Regions from separate parts of the Homo sapiens genome. Here region 1 is linked to region 2. Evidence: promoter capture Hi-C in human tissues and cell types (Jung and others, 2019). All regions are on one chromosome and are shown on one strand. Each heading gives the region's core, a stretch centred on a gene start or on the middle of the fragment in contact. The rest is flanking DNA. Distances are from core to core; before and after follow the strand shown. Region 1 overlaps SCN9A (sodium voltage-gated channel alpha subunit 9). Region 2 holds the start of SCN9A (sodium voltage-gated channel alpha subunit 9).

Region 1 (6,252 bases), core at 18-2,517, 140 kb after region 2:
ATGTACCCTCAAACCTAAAATAAAAGTTAAAAAGAAGTAATAGCTCTCATTTAGCTTATACTTATTGTGTTTCAGAATCTTCTTTTAGATTTTCTCATTTAATTTTCAAACAACCCTGTGAGATTATGATATTTTGCTTATTTTACCAATGATGAAGCTGGGTACAGTTTTAAAAGTTGCTTAATGTCCCAAAGCTAGTAAATGACAGAGCTATCACTGAATTGACATCTAAAATCAAAGTCACCATATCTTTTCACTGTGTTGTGGCTCCTCAGAAAGAAGAGTATACACAAAACAGAAATAAATGAGTGGTAACTGAATTTAGTAACAGTAAAGCGTTAAGTCCTAAATCAGATAGAGCTCACATAAGGTCATTCTTGCCTCCTTGCTCCTACATCCACAAAATTGGTTCTGGAAGCTAGAACCCCTGTGGGCTGAATTCTAATTCCTGCTCTGGGACCAGTCAGAGAGAGGTTCTCATCATCAAGACTTCCTGCGGCTCTGCTCTGACCCTGTACACCAGTTCTAGAAACAGGCTTCGTTTTCCTTGTGACTAAGCCCCTTCCTTGTCTTTGTATTTCAAGGACTGAGTCATTGCCATAGTTTCGGTTTAGATGGCTTGCCTGATTCCTCCAGAATTTGGGGGTGGAGTGGAGGGGAGGAAAATCCTGAGGGCTAGAAGCCTCCCTCTGCACTTCAATTCCATTGAATTTCAGAACCTCTGCCAACTGCTGGGACCTTCTTTTTGCATCTTAGTAGGTCCATTCAGTCTTTCTGCCCCAACTTGTCTCTTTTCTTCAATATTGATACCAACAGTTTCCCAAAACTGCTAAGGATAATTTTAGAGTATTGAAAGCAGAACGTAGAATAAGAAGAATCTGAATGGCACAAGTTCATGACTGTAGACAGGTAATAAATATAATATTAACCACGAAGGATACAGGTCTTTGACTTTCATTTTATCCAACAGGGTTAATAGTGTTTCGATCTGAAAGAGAAAGTTCTAACACTTTAGACCTGTTGAGATCAGCAATCATTTTCAGTGTCTCAATGAGCCTTTTTTTTTTTTTTTTTTTTGAGACAGAGTCTTGCTCTGTTGCCCAGGCTGGAGTGCAGTGGCGTGATCTTGGCTCACTGCAACAATGAGCCCAATTTTTCAGTCCTTTCAAATTCTTTGTCAAGGGACATGTGGCTGAAGTCTAAAGTCAAAGTCACCCTGTCCTTTCACTGTGTTGTGGCTCCTCAGACAGAAGAGCATACACAAAATAGGAGTAAATGAGTGATAACCAAAATTAGTAACAGTAAAGCGTAAGCCCTACATTAGATAGAGCTCACCTAATGTTGTCACATAATGTTGTGTGTCACTTACTAAAATTTCTTGGAAAGCATAGGAAGCACCGCATTAATGGAGAGAATAGAACAGTGATTTTTAGAGCTGAAGCTTTGAAGGATAATATATGGATGAATAGTCAAAGGAAAAAGCACCCTCTGTGTTCTATAGGCCTATTAAGCTACTGCAGTCATTCATTTAGCAAATCTTTCCTTTCCTGCTGCTGTTATTAACATGGTACTAGGCACTGGGATGCACAAGCATTTGAGAGCTGAAAGACAGGCTCCACATCCTACTGGTGGGGAAAAAGGGGAGTGTAGGATGTGAAAAGTTTATAACAGTGGCTGGCCATGGGATCATGTCTTAAATTGCTAGGACTTATCCAATTTTAATGGAGAAAGAGGAGGAATCAGATGGAGGTGGAAATGATCAGGTGTCAGAGATCATGAGTCTTTTTGTGGATTATAAGTAATTTCATTCTTTTGCACTTTCTCTTGACCTCTGAAGACCAGCAGCAGCACTGGTGAGAAGGCTAGAACTAACTGTTATATGATAACTGTAAACCAGAAAAAATGTCAGCTGGCCCATGTCAATATTATGTTTCAGCAGTCTTAGCATTAGAATTGTATTTTTCCTGTTTTTTTTAAATGAATCATGAAGCTTAAGTTGTGCATGATTGAAACTTGAATATTATTTCCACAGGCTTTTGAAGATATTTATATTGAAAGGAAAAAGACCATTAAGATTATCCTGGAGTATGCAGACAAGATCTTCACTTACATCTTCATTCTGGAAATGCTTCTAAAATGGATAGCATATGGTTATAAAACATATTTCACCAATGCCTGGTGTTGGCTGGATTTCCTAATTGTTGATGTAGGTACTTTTGAGTACATTTTAAAAGAGGATTTATTCTTACTGTGTGTTGTGAAAAAACCTTCACCACTATTGCATATTATCATATTTTAATTTTGTTAAGCTTCATATATTTTCAGGCTATAGGTTTATTCTTTTAGAAATATTAACACAGCCAGTGGAAATATATCTGTGAGGAATATTAGAACAGAAATCGTTCAACAAATGTAAATTATTTCTGTGACATTGTAACATTTATAATTGAGTTTTTTATGTTTTCTGCAAAGGAGATGTGATTTTTTAAAAAATATGATTTGAATGTCATTCTTGTTAAGAATAAAACAAAATTTAGAAGTAGGAGATGATAAAAGGGCAGAGACACAGATTAAAGAGAGGAAATGATGATTATTCATAATGTAAAATTGGAAGATAAGAGAGGATGAGGGGCACATCAAGTTGGCTGATATGTGAGCTAAAATTTTTCTAAAAATCATTATACAAATACAAAGTTAACTTTGTATTTGGGGAGAGAGAAGTCATGAAATTTTAAAATATCTATCTCAGACCCAATTATAGGAAAAACCAAAATGAGACACAATTGTCTCTATCTCAAATATGCGACTTGCCCTTCATCTCCAGAATGGCAGTGGGGCAGAGGAGTAGGCATTATTATTAATGTAATAATTTTAGATAATAAATTCAAAGAACTGTTGAATACTTGGATGATGGAAAATACATAATAATTCTTTAGTTTACATATTATTTTAACGAAGTAGAAATATTTTTACAGGCTTCTGATTGAGATAGAGAAGAAATCTTAAAATAGTCGGTGAGATCAAGGACTCTCAAATAGAAACTAACGGTACAATACCCATTATTATCATTTCATTGAATGTACTCTAATTATTTTATATTTTAATAATATAACTTAATAATATATATGACATATTTTGTATTAATTAAAATGGCTTTCTTACATTATTTTATAACCTCAATCTCCCAGTCTTATTTTTCTCAGAATGATATGTTCTTTATCTTTTACTAATTCTTCTAGATTTTCAGAAACCTAACCTTTGTGTTTAGGGAAGAAACATCCTATAATCAGTCATAGTTTTTAGAGATTTGTTTTCCATATGATGCCTGACATAATTAGAGGTCAACACGCAAATTTGTATATGCCAATAAGTGCTTTAAAATTTAACCAAGGGTTTGCATTATCGAGCTTTTAAGAAAAGTTGAATTCATACAGCATCATATGTGGATTAGAAAATCACAAGTAAGCATGATCATACATAGTAAAATCTGACTGCAAAATGTTACCAAATTAGTCATATTTACTCAAAAGTTCAATTTCTCAACTGTTATTCAAAGCTTCATAAACTTTTGGCTTCTGGCCAGGCGCGGTAGCTCACGCCTGTAATCCCAGCACTTTGAGAGTCCGAGGCAGGTGGATCACCTGAGGTCAGGAGTTTGAGACCAGCCTGGCCAACATGGTGAAACCCCGTCTCTACTAAAAAATACAAAAAATTAGCCAGACATGGTGGCAGGTGCCTGTAATCCCAGCTACTCAGGAGGCTGAGGCAGAAGAATCGCTTGAACCCGGTAGGCAGAGGTTTCAGTGAGTCGAGATCGTGCCACTGCACTCCAGCTTGGGCGACAGGGTGAGACTCCATCTCAAAAAAAATAATAATAATTTTCGTTTTCTTAATCACACAACATATTAAATGTTAAAAACAATAACTTTTTTCTATAATATGTAATGTGAAAAAATTTTTAACATAGCTATATATTACACCTTATATGTGTTATCTTAGGTTTCCTCTATGAGAATTCTAACTTCGGATATAGTAATGATTTCTTGCTATTTTTCAATTAATCATTCATATATCAAGTTATCTAGTTACTGCCTAAAAAATGAAAAATGATAAAATGGGTATTTTTGTAATATAGTAGTTTTGAAGAAAGGCTGCCCCAAATAAGAAGAAATTATAGAAGGAATGTAGATTTTCTTTTCTCTTAAACTGTAAATATGACGGGGTCTCTCTCTTAAAAAATTATACAATATTTTAGATATTTTAAAATCTTTAAAATATTATCACAAATACACTCATTTTCATCATTCAGTGTAAGAAATGAAGGTTTACAAGTAAAATTGAACTTATTTTAAATTAAGAGATATGGCTGTTTAATAATGGAAATTGTTTTATTTGAAAATTTAAAGTGATGATTCTCAGTGAGTATAACCTCCTGTTCAGGGGTATGTAATGTGCAGAAATCAGGGAGATAAACAACTCCAATTTGAAATATTATTTAATATTTTGGAAACGAACAAATATAATGCAAAGCACAGAGAGTAAAGCTCCACACAATATTCTTGCTGACAGAGATGCAAATTTTGGGACACAGATTTGGGGGAGTGGCTGATTTTTTTTTTTTCTGAAAAGTATAGAAACTTATCTACAGCAGTTGTTCTTGAAGGATGGTCTCAAAACTGAAAACGTTGGCACATGTAGGTGAGAACTCATAAGAGATGCAAATTCTGCCCCCAACCCCAAGACATACTGAATCAGAAACTCTGGGGTTGGATGTGGCAAATCATTGTAACAAGCCCTACAGATGATTCTGTTGTATATTCAGATTTCAGAACTACTTATATTATTTGCTACTCAGAGAATGGACTTGTCTGATTTCTGCAGGCTTCTGGGTTATTTGAAACTTACTTGATTAAACAGTGTTCTTCAGTACAGGCGTATATTTGTATATATACGTGTGTGTTTATAGAAAGATGTGAATATATATGCATATATATTCTCAGTTACAAACTATACCATAGTCTTAATAATATGCATATATTCCGTGTCATAAAACTCACTTAACAGTGGCTTGGAGAACAGACCTATTAGTATTTTAGGGGCTGTATCAATTATAACAGACATGTCTTAGTCTACCTTTTATTGCTGTAACTGAATACCTGAGACTGGTTAAAGTATTCAATAAAGAAATTTATTTCTTAAAGTTCTGGAAGCTGGGAAGTCTAAGGTGAAGGGTCCACATCTGGTGGGAACTTTCTTGCTGGTGGGCACACCAGAGAGTCCCAAGGCAGCTCATGGCATCACATGGCGAGGGGTGTTCACTGAGAGCCAAACTGGGTTTTATAATAAACCCACTCTTGTGATATCTAACTCACTCCCATGATAACCCATTAAGCCCTTACTCTATATTCCATTCATGAAGGCAGAACCTTCATGACCTCATCACCTTTTAAAGGCTCTGCCTCTTAATACTGTTACATTGGGAATTAAGTTCCAACATGAGTTTCAAAAGGGACAAACATTCAAACCACAGCAAAACATTAAAAAAAAAATTTTCTGATTAAAGAGGGAGCATACATATTTTCAAGTGTTCTTAAGTGGAAAATAATGGATGTGAATGACTGGGCAAATTTAAGAGTGGCATGAGGAGTAATTTATTCTGCTAAATACGTAGCTTTAGGAATTTAAAAAAAAAAGCCATGTTACATTTAGTGAGACATCTGGAAATACTACATGAGGATGAGCACTTTAAAACACTTCCCGCTTCATCAGTCAGTTTACCTGTCTCTGATGGTAACAGCAATGAACTTTTTGTGAACAATGACTTTTTCTACGCCTGAAATAGATAAATATATAAAGTTGGCTCTCATCTGTTCCTATTCTTCCCTCGAAAAATTGAATCTCTCAGTCACTAACTTATTCGTAATGAAGAACTGCATTCCAGACATTTTTCTTAGACATCGTCTCCTGCTACACAGGATGTGAGGCAAATGAATATTTTCCATGGAACTAATTCAGAGAGTAAACATATTTATAGATCCAGATCTAAGGTCATGGAGGAGCTCATTGCTTTGTAACTAAAATGTGTATTGATTGTATTGCTGTTCATGTTCTTTCTTAAGATAATTTACGATAAGAACTCAAATTTCTTTTGGATACTGGTTATGGTAATTGTGGCTGATCTATCTAACATGATGAAGCTCTTATTATATCTATATTGATTGTGAAGCCAATGAGATCAGCTACTCTCATTCT
Region 2 (5,830 bases), core at 3,147-5,646:
CAAATAAACAAATTCTAGCTCCCTCAGCCTATCAAACTCTTATTTTCTGGCTCTTCATGTTTCCATCTTCCTGAGCTGTGGTTTAGAAACTTTGTGTAGTATGCAGAGACAATCACAGCCTCACTTTCTTTCTCTTCTCTAGGGATCACTGTCTTATAGATAATGTTGCCCAATGACTGAAAACTAGTGTTTCATATATTTTGTCCCCTTATCTAATGGAAGACTTCTACAAGGGAATGTCGATAACAATAGTTTTGATCAAAAATAACTCCACAGAAAGCACATTATCAGCAAAACCATTGTTAGGGTAAGGGACCCATCAGTGGACTATGACACTGGGGAAAATTCTTCAGGAATAAGTAATCAATTAATATACTTACTAAGCATCTACTACATGCAAGACAAAACATTTATTTTTCTTCACATCAGTTTTCTGGCCAAAAAAATCCAGACCACGTCAAATTAGACGAGCAAACACTCAGATGCCAATACATTTAGGAAACCTCTTTTCTTCAGTTGTTTCATTAAGCATCATTTGCCCATCTCATCACTCCAATCTATGTCTGATAATCTTCATTGTATATTCTATTTCTTTTTAGTTATAATTTGAAGTTCTACTTTTGAATCCTACTTTTTAGCTATGTATACACAAAACTTGTAACTTTATTCTTCTATTTTCACAACAGAATAATTGTTTTTTCTTACTTTGTAATATTGCCGTGCAGCCAATATTAGAAGGTAAAAGTATTTTTCTAATCCTATTTAATTAGAGAAAAACAAACTCTTTCAGTATTGTATTAATTTTATTGCCTTAATATTACTGTCTATTTTTTGTTCTTCCAGAAACTTCTACAGTTTTGAAAATTGCAGTGGCAATTGTGGAAAATACAGAAGTGTGGATATCCATTTATTTCTCACTAAGGGAAATAAAATTCTTATTCCTATTCTGGTATGGATTGTATGATGTTAGTTAATTTCCATGACTCAACATTTCCACATTTTTCTATCTAAGTTACGGAAGGTCAGTTGTAAATATGATTAGGAACTTATTGGTTATTGGCTTTTTCAACCAGACAGGCTTTGTCTGGTTCCCTTAATTCAAGCCTACCCTTTAAATTTTAAACGTACCATCTACTTATGTCTACATCTGACGCTGTCATTTAGTGTTTAATGAACTCTCAAGGCTGTGCAGTGTAGTATTTAATAAGAAATTTGGAAAGATACTTTTTCTGGGTTTAAACCAAGATAAAATTTCTAGGGCTGCCAAAAGAGCAAGAAAAACACAAACAGCTAATGTTCTGTAGACTAGGAATGGCACATAAAAGAAATGGAAAGGAAATAAATAGTTGGAACATGAAAGAAAATTGGGAAAATAATGAATAATATACCTAATGCTTTGCCTATGAGCTCACAGGGAAAATCCTGCAAGGGATCCCTCAGTCAGACCAAGAGGATTTTATTTTTGGTTTTATCATTTTCCAGGATTTTATGTTTGAAGATCTCTAACAAGAACCTAGATATATTGAGAATAGTAAGTTCTTGTTAATGGATGCTTAAAGTGGAATATATAATATGTTATATATTATATACAACATATGTATTATACATAACATATATTATAACATAATATAGTAATATAATATATAACATGTTATAATATATAGGTTATATATAATGTATAATGCATTATATATTCCACTCTAAGAATGTATCTAACATATGTGTTATTCTAGATATAACAGCAAAGGCATAATCTATAAGAGACATAATTGCTAAGGTGAACTGCATTAAAATTAAAAACTTCTGCTCTGCAAAAACGGACAACAAGCCAGTGTTAGATAAATATTTGCAAAAGACACATCTGACAAATGACTGTTAACCAAAATATACAAATAAAGCTTAAAACTCAACAACAAGAAAAGAAATAACCCAATGAAAAAAATGGGCCATATACCTTAACAGACCAAAGAAGATGCACATATTGCAAATAAGCATATAAAAAGGTGATCCACATCATATATCACAGGGGAAATGCAAATCAAATAACACTTATGGTATCAACAATGGGCATGAGATACCACCACATATGTATTGGAATAACCAAAATCCAGAACACTGATGATATCAAGTTCTGGCCAAGGATGTGAGGCAACAGGAACTCTCATGTATTGCTGGTGGGAATGCAAAATGCTCCAGCCACTTTGAGGACAGTGTAGCAGTTTCTTTAAAAACTAAACATACTCTCACCATATGATCCAGCAATTGTGCTCCTTGATGTTCACCCAAAGGACTTGAAAACATGTCCACACAGTAACCTTCACAAAGATGTTTATAGAGGCTTTACGCATAATTGCTAAAACTTGGAAGCAAACAAGATGTCCTTCAGTAGGTGAATGAATAAACTATGGTACCACCAGTCAATGGAATATTATTCAGCACTGTAAAGAAATGAGCTATCAAGCTATGAAAAGCCATGGAGGAAAACTAAAAGCATATTGCTAAGTGAAAGGAGTCAATCTGAAAGGGCTATATTCTGTATTATTGCAACTATAGGATATCCTGGAGAAGGCAAAACTATAAAGACAGTAAAATGATCAGTACTTGCCAGGGGTTGAAATGGGAGATGAATAAGTGGAACACAGAGAATTCAGGAGAGAACTGAAATTACTCTGTAAGATACTGTAATGGTGGATACATGTCATTATATATTTGCCTAACCCCATAGAATGGACAACACCATGAGCTAACCCTAAATGTGAACTACAGACCTTGGGAGATAATGAAACCTCAAAGTAAGTTCATTAATTTTAACAAATGTTTCATTCTGGTGGGGAATGTTGATAATGGGGGAGGCTATTCTTGTGTGGGAGTAGCGGTTATGTGGGAAATCTCTGTACCCTCCCTTCAGTTTTGCTGTGAACCTAAAATTGCTCTAAAAATAAAATTTTAAAAATAAAAGAATGTGGCATTGCTTGCATCTAATAAAAAAGACCATTATTCCTATTGCAGTTGAACTCTTCTTCCTATATCTACCACCAATCAGGGAAGAGAAGGCGATTTGTCCAGGATATGGCACTGAGAATTATCACAAGTGAGCTAGTTCACCTTCATTGCACAGTCTCAGTCACTGAAGTTTCCTTCCTTCAATAGCACATCTTACAAGTCAAGAATGTAAGGTCCAAAGCCCCAGGACAAATCTCAGAAGCAAAGAAAGCAGCAGGGAAAAGTAGACCCTGGGATTTGATTTCCTTCCGGTTATCTCTAAGCATCATTTCCATGATAGAAGGTGTGGAAGCAAATAATAAAAGTGCCCGTCACTAGTGTTTATCCTGCAAAGTGGTCTGCCCTTTTGAGAGGCACCCTGCCCTATGGCCATCCTTTGATTTCTTCCCTTGGTGGAAATTTCCTGTTTCTCTTTGAGAAAGATAATTCAACCCTGTTTCCATTGTTCTTCCTCCCAGGCTGCTGTAGGAAAGCGCACGCACACACTCCACACAAAATGAATTTTTAAAAAATTTATTTTCACAGTCGCTCCTACCAGCTCTGAAATTCAGAACCCATATGACTGATGGCATATTCAGATAATCGGGTCCCAGGTCTGGAAAAGCAGCCTTTTCCCCACGTTTCTTTCCCCACCTAGGACCTCCTCTGATTCTTCACTGCATCTTCGAAAGAAAATGTATTATTTGCTTGCCTGGAAGACGCTGCAATTCAATTGATTTTATATATACATATATATAAAGAAAACAGAAAACATAGCCTAGATACCGGTCTTGAGCGTCACCGCCCCACTCGCGGTTGTGAGCAAAGCCCTACGGAAGAAACCAATTCCCAGCCTAGACTCTTCAGAGCCCAAGGTCGGGGAGGCGCTGGCCTGGCGGTGTTGTCTGGCTCCCCAGCCACTGCCCCAGACTCAGGGCTTTGCCATTGGTCCCCACCTCCTCTGCTCCGGAGTTTTTCTCCAGCTCCCCACCAAGCCACACAAAGTGACTTCTCGGAAACATTAGCCGATTCTGCTGAGCAGGAAGGGAGGAAAGGGATGATGGGGGCGGGGGTGAGATAAGGGAAGGGCTCTTCTGGCTGCTGGACACACACACACACACACTCAAACACACACACGCCCCACCCAATGGGTGGCCGTGGATGGCAGGTCGTGCAACCCCCTCCTCCGCCTTCTATTAGCGCATGGTGCAGAGGCTACAGCGTCGCCACCACCGCGCCCCTAGCTGGGTCCCCGCCCTGCGCCGCCCGCAGGAGTGGAGAGAGGGAGGGAGGGAGGGAGCAAGGGGTGGGGACCCGGGCGCGCTGGGAGGAGTGGAGGAGGCAAAGCGGCGCAGCTGCCCTCGGGGAGGCGGGGCTGCTACCTCCACGGGCGCGCCCTGGCAGGAGGGGCGCAGTCTGCTTGCAGGCGGTCGCCAGCGCTCCAGCGGCGGCTGTCGGCTTTCCAATTCCGCCAGCTCGGCTGAGGCTGGGCTAGCCTGGGTGCCAGTGGCTGCTAGCGGCAGGCGTCCCCTGAGCAACAGGAGCCCAGAGAAAAAGAAGCAGCCCTGAGAGAGCGCCGGGGAAGGAGAGGCCCGCGCCCTCTCCTGGAGCCAGATTCTGCAGGTGCACTGGGTGGGGATGATCGGCGGGCTAGGTTGCAAGTAAGTGCCTTTTCTTTTGCTGCTTCTGTGGGGAGGGGAGGAGAAGCCCTCGGTCTTTCGCCCGTGCTCGCCTCAACCGCCACACCCACCTGTGTCTATTTTCACATCTCGGTTCTGGAACCCTGTATTACGCCACCTGGAAAGAAGAGAGGGGAGAAGCTTGACCGGGTGGTTCCAGCAATGGGAGGAAGAAGGGCTGGAAGCGTAGTTATTTCGATAGCTGGGCAGCTCCTGTGCGGTTTTGACTCTGTGGGTTTGCTGCCAGGTTCTGAAACTGTGGAAAGGAAGGGTAGCAATGCCTGGTGGTTTACTGTCTTTTATTTCTGTTTACGCTAGCAGAGTTGTTAGATGGACTTCAATTCAAGGGGCAGCTCACATTTTTTACGAGCAAAAAGCATGTGCTGTATTTCCCATCTGCAAAGCTGAGCGTGCAGAACCAGCTTAGCAGATACAACCTGTGGGGACAGAAAAGAACCCCGCACCCCTTAAGAGCACACAAACACAAATAATTGACAGGACAGCTCTGCCCCTATTTCTCAGCGCAGATTATTTATTTATTTTTTCGAATAAGCACTTTATAGTGAAATTCAGAAAAGATGCAGAATCCTTTTAACTTTTTATCGAATTCAACTTGGGAAACTCATTTACTTTTAGGAAAAAATGGATATTTTCGTGCCTTATATTCAAGACAAAAATCAGAACAAGAAACTAGAAACATTAATGCCAGTTTTTGTGATTATAGTAAACATTTCACTCATTATTTTAGTTTTTTTTTTTTAAGTTGGAGCGTTCATAGATTATATCTACTCTGATGTTAAGAGCAATTTACATGAGAAACTTAGGGGGGTTTTTAAGAAGCTAGTGTCAGTAAGATAAAAGCCAAATCAAAGTAAGCTTTCAAGGAAGTGATAGCTTGTCAGTTACTGAATAGGAAGTCAGTGTTGGGAAGTTCAGTTCTTTTCAGAAACATATTTATTATTCTTTTCTATTTCTTCTTCCCTGTAGACAAGATAAAGATTTTCTTTCTCTTTCTTTCCTTGTTATTTAAATATATTTTATAATTTTTGCTTTAACATCAATATAAACCTATTTTATATAAACTGCAAACCAAATCCAATTATTAAACTGTTCATTTTATTGCAAATTCTTCAGATTTTTTCCACTATTTAAAAAAGTTTATAATTTTT

The links. Contacts are between HindIII fragments. The study calls those that stand out against the background at their distance.
Region 1: a fragment that was not itself captured here is called in contact with the fragment with the promoter of SCN9A in region 2 in 1 of the 25 tissues and cell types used here (H1 embryonic stem cells).

The regions. Positions count from the first base shown.
Region 1 is chr2:166,234,048-166,240,299 of GRCh38, reverse strand. SCN9A (sodium voltage-gated channel alpha subunit 9) reads left to right here. Exons shown (of 27, transcript NM_001365536.1): 20 at 2,033-2,206. All of the region lies in intron 4 of SCN1A-AS1 (SCN1A and SCN9A antisense RNA 1), which reads right to left. Among named protein-coding and RNA genes, the nearest start is that of SCN1A, 110 kb to the right of the region's middle. The HindIII fragment of the contact is 3,333 bases long and covers 1-2,933 here.
Region 2 is chr2:166,374,510-166,380,339 of GRCh38, reverse strand. SCN9A (sodium voltage-gated channel alpha subunit 9) reads left to right here and starts at 4,396. Exons shown (of 27, transcript NM_001365536.1): 1 at 4,396-4,643. The HindIII fragment of the contact is 4,548 bases long and covers 623-5,170 here.